Linked DNA regions of Homo sapiens: all the other regions are linked to region 1. Evidence: promoter capture Hi-C in 16 types of primary human blood cells and fetal thymus (Javierre and others, 2016). All regions are on one chromosome and are shown on one strand. Each heading gives the region's core, a stretch centred on a gene start or on the middle of the fragment in contact. The rest is flanking DNA. Distances are from core to core; before and after follow the strand shown.

Region 1 (3,187 bases), core at 493-2,992:
CCTGTCTCAAATAAAAATAAAAATAAGACAGCTATTTTACCCTGTCTTCACCTAAATAAGCTCATCTTATTTTTTGCCTGAAACTCTTGCAAACTCCCAGGTCTGCTAGTTTTGAGAAACCTTGGATCTCAATAAGGAATAGTTCTCAATTGCTTATAAGCATAATGGATTTCTTTTGGCTTAAAGTTCAAAACTGGCAACAAGCAGCGCTAGCAACCCATAGAGAGATACGCAGACCATTTCGATAGACGTGTTTGCTGAGTGAACAAGGCTGACTGAATTTTTTTTTTTTTTTGAGGCAGGGTCTCACTTTGTTGCCCAGGCTGGCGTGCAGTGGTGCAGTAGTGGCTCACAGCAGCCTTGACCTTCTGGGCCCAAGTGATCCTCCCTTCTCAGCCTCCTGAGCTCCTGAGTAACTGGGACCATACGTGCACCACCATGCCCAGCTAATTTTTTAGATTTTTTTGTCTCCCTATGTTGCCCAGGCTGGTCTCAAACTCTTGGACTCAAGCCATCCTCCTGCCTTGGCCTCCCAAAGTGCTGGGATTACAGGTGTGAGCTACTGCGCCCATCCCTGAATTCTTAATTACAACTAAACTAGATGCTTATGGATTTTCCTGTTTTACAACTCTTGCCTCTTTTATCTGTAATTTTAAGATCTTGACAGCTTATATTTGGCTTTGCTTTTGTGTCTCAAGAGTTCTTTCCTTGATAAGCCTCTGTGGAAACTACAGAATCTTACAAATATAAAACATTTCCGGAAAAAATACAAAAATGGACACCTGACATTTACACTCCCTAAGGTCGTGATCCTGTTGAAGAAAGGAGATGAACGCGGCTGCTTTTCAGTAGTTCTTCACTTCACCTTACCAGGTTCTTCATCTGGATGCTATGCTATGGGGGCCAGAGGAGGAGGCTGGGATTGTGATGGATCCTACTAGATTTTACAGCTGGAGCTCCCAGGAATGCCCTCATAGGGAATGTCCTGAAGGGAATCATGGGTAACTTGTAAGCTACCTCAACTTATTTTTGGAACTATGTAAGGTATAAGATGGATGGAGCTGGGTTCCTGTGCCTTTCTCACCTTGTCCGCATAGAGATGCAGCTGCTCCTGCAGGCCAAAGTTCTGCACCAATCACCTCCACCTGCTTCCCACTGGGAGACAAAGGTTTGAAAGCCTGTTTGGCGATGAACCACGATGATCTGACACTCAAGCCACTCCTGAGAAAGTCGGGTTTCTTTCTGTTTCCATTTATATATGTAATTTTCGCTTCAAACAAACATGACCTCGCTATTCTATGCACAGTTTTGAATCCTGCTTTTAAAATGCGATGTCTGCCTTGTCTTTAAATATTCTGAGGGGGAGGAGAGGAGATGTGTAATGCGACTGTCTATAATTTGAAACCGGACCTCACTATTTAGCGTCTCAGAAAACGCGGGGTTCATTGCCCTGGTCCCCCCCGCCTTCCCCCGCCCCCCGAACCTTCCGGCTGGCTCTCTTGCGGTCCCCGCCTCGGCGCTGATGTGGTCTGGCAGTGGAGATTGGCGCCCGGGCGGAGCACGATGGGCTTCCCCGCGGCAGGCAGGCAGGCTGCTGCTGCAGGTGGGTCCCGGCGCCCGCGCCGCCCCGCGCCTCCGGCGGTCGCCCCGCCCCTGCCCGCCCGCTCCGCTCCGCTCGCATTGGCGCTGCCTGCTGTCTGTCCCCGCGCGGTGGGGAGGGGGCGCACCCGGCGGCGGGCTCTGCAGAGGGCGCCTTGCTCCGGGTGCGACCGCGGCTCCCTGGAGGCCTGGGCGGCGGGCCCCGCGAGCGCGCCGCCACCTCGGGAGCAGTGTTGGCCAAGGACCCCGACGCCCTACGTAAGTAAAGGCAGGGCGGGGAGCCTGCGGGGGAGGAGGGTCGGGGGCAATGTCCGGTCCGCGGACCGCGGAGTGGGCAAGAGGTGCCCACTGGATACGGGGTATCCGAGCCCTCTGAGGTGCTGGGAGTAAGAACGCGGGAGGTCGCTTGTCCGCTGGAATCCGCGGCCAGGGCGACCCTCATCAGGTCTGCCCACCTATCCCCTTCGCGTTACAGCTTGTCTTAGAAGCATGGGTTGCCGGTGGCTTTTTTCCTTCTTTATCCCTCTTTGAGAAATGTGATTTTGGGTTTCTGGCCATTACATTATAATTCTGCAGACAGCCTGAAGCTGGGTTATCTGTTCCACGCCCCCGGCATTTTCCTTTTTGAGTACTTTATCCTGCGCTCTGTCTCCTGCCATAAGGGGCGTCAAGCCAGAATTCGAGATTCCTTCCTCCAGGAGGAAGCTTCGTGGTCCGTATCTGGTGCTGGGAAAGATGCATTGCTTTCCTCGGGTACTGGCTGCTCAAGGGAAAAAGGAAAGGGGGTGTTTTCTGTGACATGAGACTTGCAATTCCATCAGGAAATGAGCACAGGGACTTTAAGATTTCCTGAGGCGATAAAGCTACCCTTGCTGGTTAAGAGCGAATCATTTGCAGTCTGACATTCTGCAAAGTTTTATTGTCTACAGACTGCATTATTTTCCCTCGTTAGTTAAGTTTCTGTTTGGGTATTCGTTTTATTTCTAGTATGTGAGATACATTCAAGTGAGCTTCTCAAACGATTGTCTTTGCGCAATCCAGGTTAGTTTCCAATGACAGACTCCTAAACATCTCATTTCAATATTTCTATTATGTGGTAATACAGCCTCTGCTTAACAAAAATGCTCAGGTGCTGAAAACTCACAAGAGGTGAGAAGATTTAAACAGTTATCAGCTTAGGTTCTAGTGCTCACTGAAACATTGTGAGGAGAAACACTGTCAAATGTTCATATTTTAGTTCCGTCATTGTTCTAGAATGACTTTATCTTTCTGTTAGAGGCACACAGTATGAAACACCCAACCTAAGATAATATTTACTTAGATCATAAACTGATTTTCAGGGTTCCAGTTCCTTCTACAGTTCATAAAATTATGGGTTACCCAAATGAAACTTCAGTGAAGGATTTACATAAAAACAATATAAAGAATGAGTCCCTTTGCTTATTTTAGGGCATCCACCCACTAAAATTCATAGGATCTTTGTTGGATAATCACCTCCCATTTCCATTCTTTGGTGCCATCATACCATTCTAAGGATTAAATTTTCAATACACCTTTATATTATCTAAGTTTGCCAATTGCATAGTTT
Region 2 (3,187 bases), core at 502-3,001, 820 kb before region 1:
AATCCTGAACTCTTCTGTGAGCTAATTTAGCGGTATTTCATTTTTGTGTCTAGCAAAAGTAAAACCATTAATAAATACCAAAAACTTGCTGAGTAGACTTTTCGCTTTCGAAAAATTTTAATATTTTTTTCCTATTTTACATGTAATACAAACTTTCGACTGTAGAAGAAAAAAACATGATTTCGGATGTATGTAATACTTCTACACTTCTAGATTAAAATTAAGTACACTTTACAGAATTAAAGCTAAGCAAAAACTGCGTTCATTACTGATGCTTGTAATTATTGCATTTTTGTTTAAAATATCGAATTATTTTTGTCATTTTTGTATCTTATTTCTAAATGATTAGAGAAGGTTTCAGGTTGTTTGTAAAGGAAACATTACCGATTTAGCTCTTTGTTTTGTTTTGTTTTGGAGACAGGGTCTCGCTCTGTCATCCAGGCTGGAGTGCACTGGCAGGAGGTGGGATCATGGTTCACTGCAGCCTCGACGTCCTGGGCTCAAGTGAGCCTGCCACCTCAGCCTCCTGAATTGCTGAGACTACTGGCACACGCCACCAAGCCCAGATTTTTTTTTTTTTTTTTTTTTTTTGAGATGGAGTCTCGCTCTGTCGCCCAGGCTGGAGTGCAGTGGCGCGATCTCAGCTCACTACAACCTCCGCCTCCCGGGTTCAAGAGATTCTCCTGCCTCAGCCTCCCAAGTAGCTGGGACTACAGGCACATGCCACCATGCCCGGCTAATCTTTTGTATTTTTAGTAGAGACGGGGTTTCACTGTGTTAGCCAGGATGGTCTCAAACTCCTGAGCTTGTGATCCACCTGCCTCGGCCTCCCAAAGTGCTAGGATTACAGGCGTGAGCCACTGCGCCCGGCCATATTTTTTGTGTAGACAGAGATTCGCTATGTTGCCCAGGCTGGTCTCGAACTCCTGAGTTCAAACGAGGCTCCTGCCTCGGCTTCCCAAAGTGCTGGGATTACAAGCTTATGCTCGTTTTTATTCCCAATAAATGAAGAGCGAAATTGGGTGTAAATCATCGATATATTTATCCTTGTAATATTCTATGTGATGTAGTAGGTGAAACATATGGATGGGTGAAGATGACTCTGGCAAAAATGCAGAATTATATTTTTAATGCTTTTCATTAGCTAGCATTTTAATGGTATTTTCCTTTTGCCTCTTATTTTAAATCAGTAGTTCATTTAACATGTTAATTAAATGTCATATAACTAAGAATAAACACCATTAAAAACTGAATCAAGGCTACTGTGGTTAGCGCTGTTTAGCTGAATGATAGATCAGCTGAGTGACTAAACTGTGGCCACATTTGGCTGATTTAAATTCTAAGTGTTCTCTCAGCACTTTTGGAAGCTTCTAAAATGTTTCATTTGTTTATTTTTGAGACAGAGTCTCCCTCTGTCACCCAGGCTGGAGTGCAGTGGCACAATCTCGGCTTATTGCAACCTCCACCTCCCAGGTTCAAGCAATTCTCATGCTTCAGCCTCCCGAATAGCAGGGATTACAGGCGCGTGCCACCACACCCAGCTAATTTTTTCTATTTTCAGCAGACACTGGGTTTTGCTATGTTGGCCAGGCTGGTCTTGAGCTCCTGGCCTCAAGAGATCCACCTGTCTTGGCCTCCCAAAGTGCTGGGATTACAGGTGTGAACCACTGAGCCGGCCAAAATGTTCTATTTTAAAGAAAAAAATTATTATTTTGAGAATTTAAAAAACATATTTAAACAGGCACCATTACTACCTTTAACAGTGTGAACCTGTGAATCATCTTTGTACTCTGTTGGGAAATAGTTTAAGAAGTGAACTCAGGCTGGGTATGGTAGTGCACACCTGTAATCCCAGCAGTTTGGGAGGCTGAAATGGGAGGATTGCTTCAGCCCAGGAGACAGAGGTTACAATGAATCATCATCTCAACACTGCACTCCAGCCTGGATGACAGAGTGAGACCCTGTCTAAAACAAAACTAAACAAAAAAAAGAACCAAGTAAACTCAAAGTGAGATGAATGAAACGACTCTTGAGATGCAGGAAGAGAATATTAGAACCCTTATTTGTATGTCCTTTTTATTCTCAACATTTTTCTTTACATTTCTGTGTTTTTAAATTTTTTACATATAACAATATAAGCTTTTTTAAAAATCTTTTTTTGTTTGTTTGTTTTTTGTTTTGTTTTGAGACAGAGTTTCGCTGTTGTTGCCAAGGCTGGAGTGCAGTGGTGTGATCTGGCTCACCACAACCTCTGCCTCCCGGATTCAAGCGATTCTCCTGCCTCAGCCTCCCCAGTAGCTGGGATTACAGGCATTCACCACTATGCCTGGCTAATTGTATTTTGAGTAGAGATGGAGTTTCTCTATGTTGGTCAGGCTGGTCTCGAAGTCCCGATCTCAGGTGAGCCACCATGCCTGGCCCTTTTTTTTTTTCTTTAATAGGGGCAGGGTCTCACTATGTTGGCCAGGCTGGTCTCAAACTCCTGGCCTCAAGTGGATCCTTCCACCTCGGCCTCCAAAGAGCCAAGATTACAGACATGAGCCACTAAGCCTGGCCATTTTTGCAATGTATATGTAAAAATATATATGTATTGAGTAAGTGGTAAAATTTTTTTGAGAAATATGTGATCAAAACCATATTTGGAGTTGGGACATGACAACTGCAATTTGAAGATCTTGTGGGGAGAGAAGTCAAAGAAAAAAACACAAATGTTTTAGTTAGTATCTAATATGAAAGAATGGTATTGGCCAGTTAGCTCAGGTGGTTAGAACTGTGAAAAGAAAATAATCTCAGGACCCCAAAATCACTAAGCCAAAAGGAAAAGTCAAGCTGGGAACTGTGTCGGGCAAACCTGCCTCCCATTCTATTCCTCAATGAGATAGCTGCAAGGATAAAACAACTGCTTACCTCCTTCATCACAATTTGCCACAAGGAAATTCCTTGTGGACTTCCTCCCTACTTCAAGTTATTCCACCTTTCCAGACTGAACCAATGTACATTACATATATTAATTGATGTCTCGTCTCCCTAAAATGTATACAACCCAGCTGTGCCCTGAACACCTTGGGCACATGTCCTCAGGACCTCTGGAGGCTGCCGTGGGCACATCCTTGACCTTGGCAAAGTAAACTTCCTAAATTGATGAGGCTTGTCTCAGATACTCTTTGGTTTGCAGAATGTATTGCTG
Region 3 (3,187 bases), core at 391-2,890, 760 kb before region 1:
CCACTGCAGGGTTTTGAGTAAAGCTGCTATGTAGAGATTAAATTTTAAGAGAGTAAGGCAAAAACAGGAAGACCAGTTAGAAGGCTGTTGGTATAATCTAGGTAAGAGATAACAGTGGTGTCTGTCTCTACAGCAGGGACTTGACCTTTAAAGTCTTTAAAAACCTTTAAAGTCTAATTTTTAAAAAGCTGTTGACAGCAAAAAAAAAAAAAAAAGAACCAAAAGAAGTAAAAAAAAAAAAAAAGTCAACTTTAAAAAAATCTTTCTGCACTTCCTTCTCTAACTTGGACCCTATAAGGAAGTAGAAATGTACAAAATTACTGATAAGAGTTCTTTATACACAACAAACTGAAGAAAAAATCACCTATAGAGTCTCAGAAGCTAGAGGTGAAGGTAGGACGGGGAAGGGTAGAGATTTTAAATAGGAGCAATGAAACCAAGTATGACTTAACCCACATTTATTCAATTTTACGATGTCCAAGGTGTTTAAAAAGGAGAGATGGAATGTTATCAAGCCAGATGCAGAGGCTAAAGAAGCTATGAGGCTTTCCTTTTCTCTGCTCCATGGCACCTTCAGATTTCACTGGGATGAGGTGACTAAAGAAAACAAAATAAGTCATTTTTATTGACCGACTTTTTTTGGTCATTACTCTCCACCTTTATGATATGTTCTCTAGATTTTTTTATGGAAAAAAAATATTTTGGGGCCAAGCATGGTGGCTCATGCCTGTAATCCCAGCAGCACTTTGGAAGGTCGAGGCAGGCTGATCACTTGAGATCATGAGTTTGAGACCAGCCTGGCCAACAGGATGAAACCTTGTCTCTACTAAAAATACAAAAATTAGCCAGGTGTAGTGGCACGCACCTGTAGTCCAAGCTACTTGGGAGGCTGAGGCATGAGAATCGCTTGAACCTGGGAGGCAGAGGTTGCAGTGAGCCGAGATTGCGCCACTGCACTACAGCCTGGGTGAAGAAGTGAGACTCTGTCTAAAAAAAAATTAAAAAGAAAACATTTTGGGGAACACTTGATCCAGTTCTGACTACATGATGACTTTCATATTTACTCCCCATTGAATAACAGAATTCTGAACTTCTAAGTGTCAAAGTAAAAAAGAATTTCATCAGTAAGCAGACAAAAAAGACTACAGATCTTAATGGCTAAAGGAAATAACAGATAAAGTGATATTTTTTTTTACTGTGCCTAATTTATAAATTAAACTTTATCATAGATACATATGTACAGGAAAAAAACAGTATATATAGCGTTGACTACTATCCACAGTTTCAGGCACCAATGGGGGTCGTGGAACATATCCTCTGCTGATGAGCGGGGCTACTATACCCCCATTCACAGACGAAGTGATCCTAAAGATAGAAAATCCCAAATAATCCATGAAGAAAACATATTAGAATTAATAAATGAATTCAGCAAAGTTGCAGGGTGTAAGATCAACACTCACAAATCAGCTGTGTTTCTACATACCAGCAATAAAAAAAAAACCCTAAAATGAAAGTAAGAAAAATAATTCCACTTTCAGTAGCATCCTAAAGAATAAAATACCCATACCTAGGAATAAACTTAACTAAGGAAGTGAAAGGTTTGTCCATTGAAAACTATAAAACATTACTGAAAGAAATTAAAGACCTAATTAAGGCCAGGCACAGTGGTTCATGCCTATAATCCCAGCACTTTGGGAAGCTGAGGTGGGCGGATCACAAGGTCAAGAGATCAAAACCATCCTGGCCAACATGGTGAAACCCTGTCTCCACTAAAAATACAAAAATTAGCTGGGCGTGGTGGCGCGTGCCTGTAGTCCCAGCTACTTGGGAGGCTGAAGCAAGAGAATTGCTTGAACCCGGGAGGCAGAGGTTGCAGTGAGCTGAGATTGCACCCCGGCACTCCAGCCTGGCAACGGAGCAAGAGAGACTCCATCTCAAAAAAAAAAAAAAAAAAAAAAGACCTAATTAATGAAAAGATATCCCATGTTTATGGATTAGAAGACTTAATACATTAAAACTTAATATGTTAAAATGGCACTATTATCTAAAATGATCTATAGTCAATGTAATCCCTATTTAAGTTTTTTTTTTTTTTTTTTTTTTTGGCGGCAGGTGGGGAGTGGGGTCTCGCTTTATCACCCAGGCTGGAGTGCAATCTAGCAGTGGTTCAATCATAGTTCACCATAGCCTCCAACTCCTGGACTCATGTGATCCTCCCAATGCAGCCTCCCATGTAGCTGGGACTACAGGTGTGCACCACCATACCCTGCTAATTTTTTAATGTTTTATAGAGATGGGGGTCTCGCTATGTTGCCCAGGCTGGTCTCCAACTCCTGGGCTCAAGTGATCCTCCCATTTTAGCCTCCCAAAGCACTGGAATTACAGGCCTAAGCCACCATGCCCAGCCCTTCTGTCAAAGTTCTAATTGCATTTTTGCAGATACTGAAAAGCTGATCCTCAAATTTATATGGAATTGCAAAAGGTCCTGAAGAGCCAAAACAATACTAAAAAAGAAGAACAATGTGGAAGGACTCATATTTTCCAATTTCAAAATTTACTACAGTATTCAAAACAGTGTGGTACTGACATAAGGTCAGACATATAGACCAGTGAAATAGAATCGTGGGCCCCAAACTAAACCCATATACGTATGGTTAACTGATTTTCAATAAGAATGCCAAGACCATTAAATAGGTAAAGAATAGTCTCTTTAACAAATAGTGCTAGGACGTCTGAATACCTACATGCAAAATGATGAAGTTGGACTCCTATCTCATACCATATATACACTCAAAATGGGTCAACAACTTAAATATAGCAGCTAAAAACTTTTAGAAGAAATCATAGGGGCCGGGTGTAGTGACTCACACCTGTAATTCTAGCACTTTGGGAGGCCAAGGCAGAAGGATCGCTTGAGCCCAGGTGTTCAAGACCAGCCTGGACAACACAGTAAGACCCTGTCTCAATAAAGAAAGAAAATCTTTAAAAAAATTTTTAAAAGAAAACACAGGGATAAATCTTTATGACTCTGGATTAGGCAACAGATTCTTAACTATGACACCAAAAGCATGTGTAACAAAAGAAAAACATAGGTAAACTGGAATTTCATCAAAATTTACAAATTGGCCGGGTGTGGCGGCTCAGGCCTGTAATCTCAGCACTTTGGGAAGCCTAGGCAGGAAGATCA
Region 4 (3,187 bases), core at 340-2,839, 630 kb after region 1:
CTTGCTGGCAACCCTTTTTGAGAGGGCCAAGATTTCAGAGTTGAAGAAGAAAAACTGGGTGAAGACTCCCAGTGTAAGGCATCTAATATCCTCCCCCAAATGCAAAACTGGTTTTAAAAAACAAGCCCAAACAATTGTCTTGAACAAATAAAACTCTACTCAGATGAGCCTGTACTGAGAATGATGTTCAGTAATGAAAACAAATGGTACGGAAAACCCCCTTGTGGAATTAATTAGGCCCTATTCTAGGAGACCACAGAGGTATTCTTGGACTGTACAGCAGGCTCCCAAACATCTCCCCTACACATCCTATGGTTACAGTGGCTGGATGCTGCCCACTCTTCTAGTACGCTGGATTTGTACGTCTGGATGTCTGCCAGAAAACCCTTCCTCCAGGGCATCCCTAACAGAAATACTAAGGGGCTATGCAGTGGTCCACAGATGCTCAACAGAAACTCCCGCACCAAATCACTTCCAGCTTTGACATCTCTGCCAAAGTTTTTATTCAGCCTCTCAGTTATATTTCTACCCAACTTTCCACACTGGTAGACAGAATAAAAATCTTCACCTACAATTTGTCCATCTTTGACACTACCAAGCACGTGTATCTTAAGTGTTGTTAGATGTTGAAGACAAACATTATTTTGTTAGCCAAGAAGTTGCTATGTTGGCAAGAAGTCATCTAGGCTAAGGAGGTCTGTTCAAAATTGAGGGAAATCTCTTAAAATTATTTCCTTCCAACTTACTGCAGAGAGACTGCATCTTTGTTCAAGGCATCACATCAGTCAGTAATCTTATTTCCTCCAAGTTCTAGGCAAATAGCACGGGGAAATAAATGCTTCATTATTCCAGGATGCACAAGGTTCTCCAGAACAATGCCATGTCTTACAGGCTACCTGACAGCTAACCCCACCTATAAGGGGAACCATCTCAATTCTAATACAGAAAATTCTCAGCATATAGGGAATTAGTTGCCCACTCAATATTTACTACCTTTACAAAATGTGAAGGTTGTATTTTAGAGGGAAGCTTGTGTTGCTTATGATTCTTATCAAGCTATTCTTATTAGAGACTAAGGACACGAGAATACACAGACCCAAAAATCTCATCCGAAAAGATCTATTTCTTACTTCTGATAGATAAGAACAAGATAGGATAAAGCTCAATTTCTAAGCAACTTAAAATATTCATTTTAATCAACCCAAAAATTATAACATAAAATAATAGGCAGGTAGGATGGGATAAACTCACCAAGCTCCCTAAGAGAAAGACATGGATTTCAATTTTCCAATACCTGTCCTGCTTGTAGCTGATTGCCTGGTATACATTTCCAACATTATCTAATGTATGTATTTGTTTTCAAACTTTTTTCTTTTGGTGCCTAAAATAACTGGCAAATGCTATAATCCAAACAGGGCCTCATACTATAGCCATTTCAGAGAAGGATGCCTTGGTCAGGAAATTTTAATTAAAAACCAAGCTGAATTCTTTGACCAACTATTTCACCGTTACTGGCATCTTGGAAAAATTCTTTTAGACATAAGAACAACTTTTACCCTAACACAGGCACATTTAGGAACTAACTCTGGCATTTGTTATCACTGTAAGCATCACTGTCAACACTCTAAGCAGAGAAAAAGTACATGCATTGTGCAGCACTTTTGCCATGCAACTGACTGCAGGTAAAACAGACAGTAGTTTCCTGAGTGAATTCCAATCTCGGAGGCTACCAAGCTCGTTCTCTTCTGAATATTCCTAAAGAAGCAAAGAGCTCTGAGAAGTTAAAAATATTTCATGCCAGAAAGGTCCAGAAGTGGAATTGCACAAATCTGTTTTCAAACCCCTCACAAGTATACTGCAACTGCAACTCAGTCAGGTGCCATCAAGGATGGTCACTGGAAAAAAAATTGCATTTCCTGACCAACACACTAACCCATACATTTCCTGTATACTTACACTCTTTCCTAAAGAAATTTCCCAAACAGAAATAAAGCAAAAGGAAGCCCTTGCAATATAATATACCTGTCCCACAAATTTATCTTTAAAATGCAACCTCTTCCCTCCAAAATATAATAAAAATAACATCAGTGGGATTTTGCGATGTACTGAATTTAGTAGTAAGAATACTCTTTGGGGTTACTTCCTTTAACAAAGCTTACTGGCCATTGGAGAAGCTGTTTTCCGTTTGTACTGAAGCAATAGAAAAAAATATTTGCCAAATCAGTTTCACTTTCTGTTAGAGTTAGCCTAACTTCCTAACTCTCTTCTCAGTATCTTACATTTCTCATGTAGTAAGGCCTATATATTGTAGTGACATTATAAAACATACATGAATGTTTTTATATTAGGATCCACAGAACCCTTTTCAAATAACTTTTTCAACATCTTCTGTAGTCCTGAATACCTAAGTATTTGGTTGTTCACAGTCCACATCTTTTTTTAAACCTTTTTTCTAAGGCAAAACTTAAGAATAGCTCCCTCTTAAATTTTAAAAAATATATTTATTATCCATATTAAATATTGAGAAGTAAGCAGATGCATTCACAGAGGGGAAAAAATGGAATCCTTTTTACCCTACACAGTCACAATAGTTGTTTGATATACTATAAAATTTGTTTATAACATATCTGCTTTTTCTCTCCATGCTGTTGTAATTACATTGTGCAGAGTAATATTTAGAAATATCAACAAATAGATGTGTTAAATTAAAAACAAAGTGTCAAACCAACTTCCTTTGCCTACCCCCAAAATCAAAAGGAAAAATCCTAGGCACCTTAACAGCAAACTAAAAACATCTAGACAAAACAATGAGATTAGCATTCCAGGAAAGCAGAAACATTATAATAATTTAATAACAAATTTATATCAACGATCATATGGATGAAAATTTTGAAAAGCAGAAAGCTTTCAAGAACTGCGAGCCAAAATTTCACCAAAAAAACAAACAAACAAACAAACAAACAAAAAAAACACAACTTTCTCTTACTGGGAAGTCAGTATAATTTCAATTCAAAGGATAATTCTGCAAAGGAAGGCTAAACGATCCTTACCCTCCAGCTCTGATCAAGCCCTAGCACAGATTTTACAACTGGAGACTTGCAGGGAAAAAAAAAGTTTTCAACAGACTAGGCCCCAAACATGAAGGATAAAAGTAAATGTGAAAAAGGAATTCAATTTTCAAATATAT

The links. Contacts are between HindIII fragments. The CHiCAGO score rates a contact against its expected background, and 5 or more counts as called.
Region 2: a fragment that was not itself captured here is called in contact with the fragment with the promoter of AKAP5 in region 1 in 1 of 17 cell types (M2 macrophages); the score reaches 8.2 in M2 macrophages.
Region 3: a fragment that was not itself captured here is called in contact with the fragment with the promoter of AKAP5 in region 1 in 1 of 17 cell types (M2 macrophages); the score reaches 5.3 in M2 macrophages.
Region 4: a contact is called between a fragment that was not itself captured here and the fragment with the promoter of AKAP5 in region 1, in 1 of 17 cell types (M2 macrophages). The highest score is 5.1, in M2 macrophages.

The regions. Positions count from the first base shown.
Region 1 is chr14:64,463,757-64,466,943 of GRCh38, forward strand. AKAP5 (A-kinase anchoring protein 5) reads left to right here and starts at 1,743. Exons shown (of 2, transcript NM_004857.3): 1 at 1,743-1,857. It also overlaps a transcript of ZBTB25 not described here. RefSeq lists silencers at 1,538-1,937, 1,948-2,017. The HindIII fragment of the contact is 7,002 bases long and covers 1-2,302 here.
Region 2 is chr14:63,643,085-63,646,271 of GRCh38, forward strand. The region is part of intron 1 of LOC105370532 (a long non-coding RNA gene); the gene reads left to right. Among named protein-coding and RNA genes, the nearest start is that of WDR89, 2.8 kb to the left of the region's middle. The HindIII fragment of the contact is 772 bases long and covers 1,366-2,137 here.
Region 3 is chr14:63,701,720-63,704,906 of GRCh38, forward strand. The region is part of intron 1 of SGPP1 (sphingosine-1-phosphate phosphatase 1); the gene reads right to left. Among named protein-coding and RNA genes, the nearest start is that of SGPP1, 25 kb to the right of the region's middle. The HindIII fragment of the contact is 4,906 bases long and covers 1-3,187 here.
Region 4 is chr14:65,096,598-65,099,784 of GRCh38, forward strand. The region is part of intron 2 of MAX (MYC associated factor X); the gene reads right to left. Among named protein-coding and RNA genes, the nearest start is that of MAX, 4.3 kb to the right of the region's middle. The HindIII fragment of the contact is 1,125 bases long and covers 1,028-2,152 here.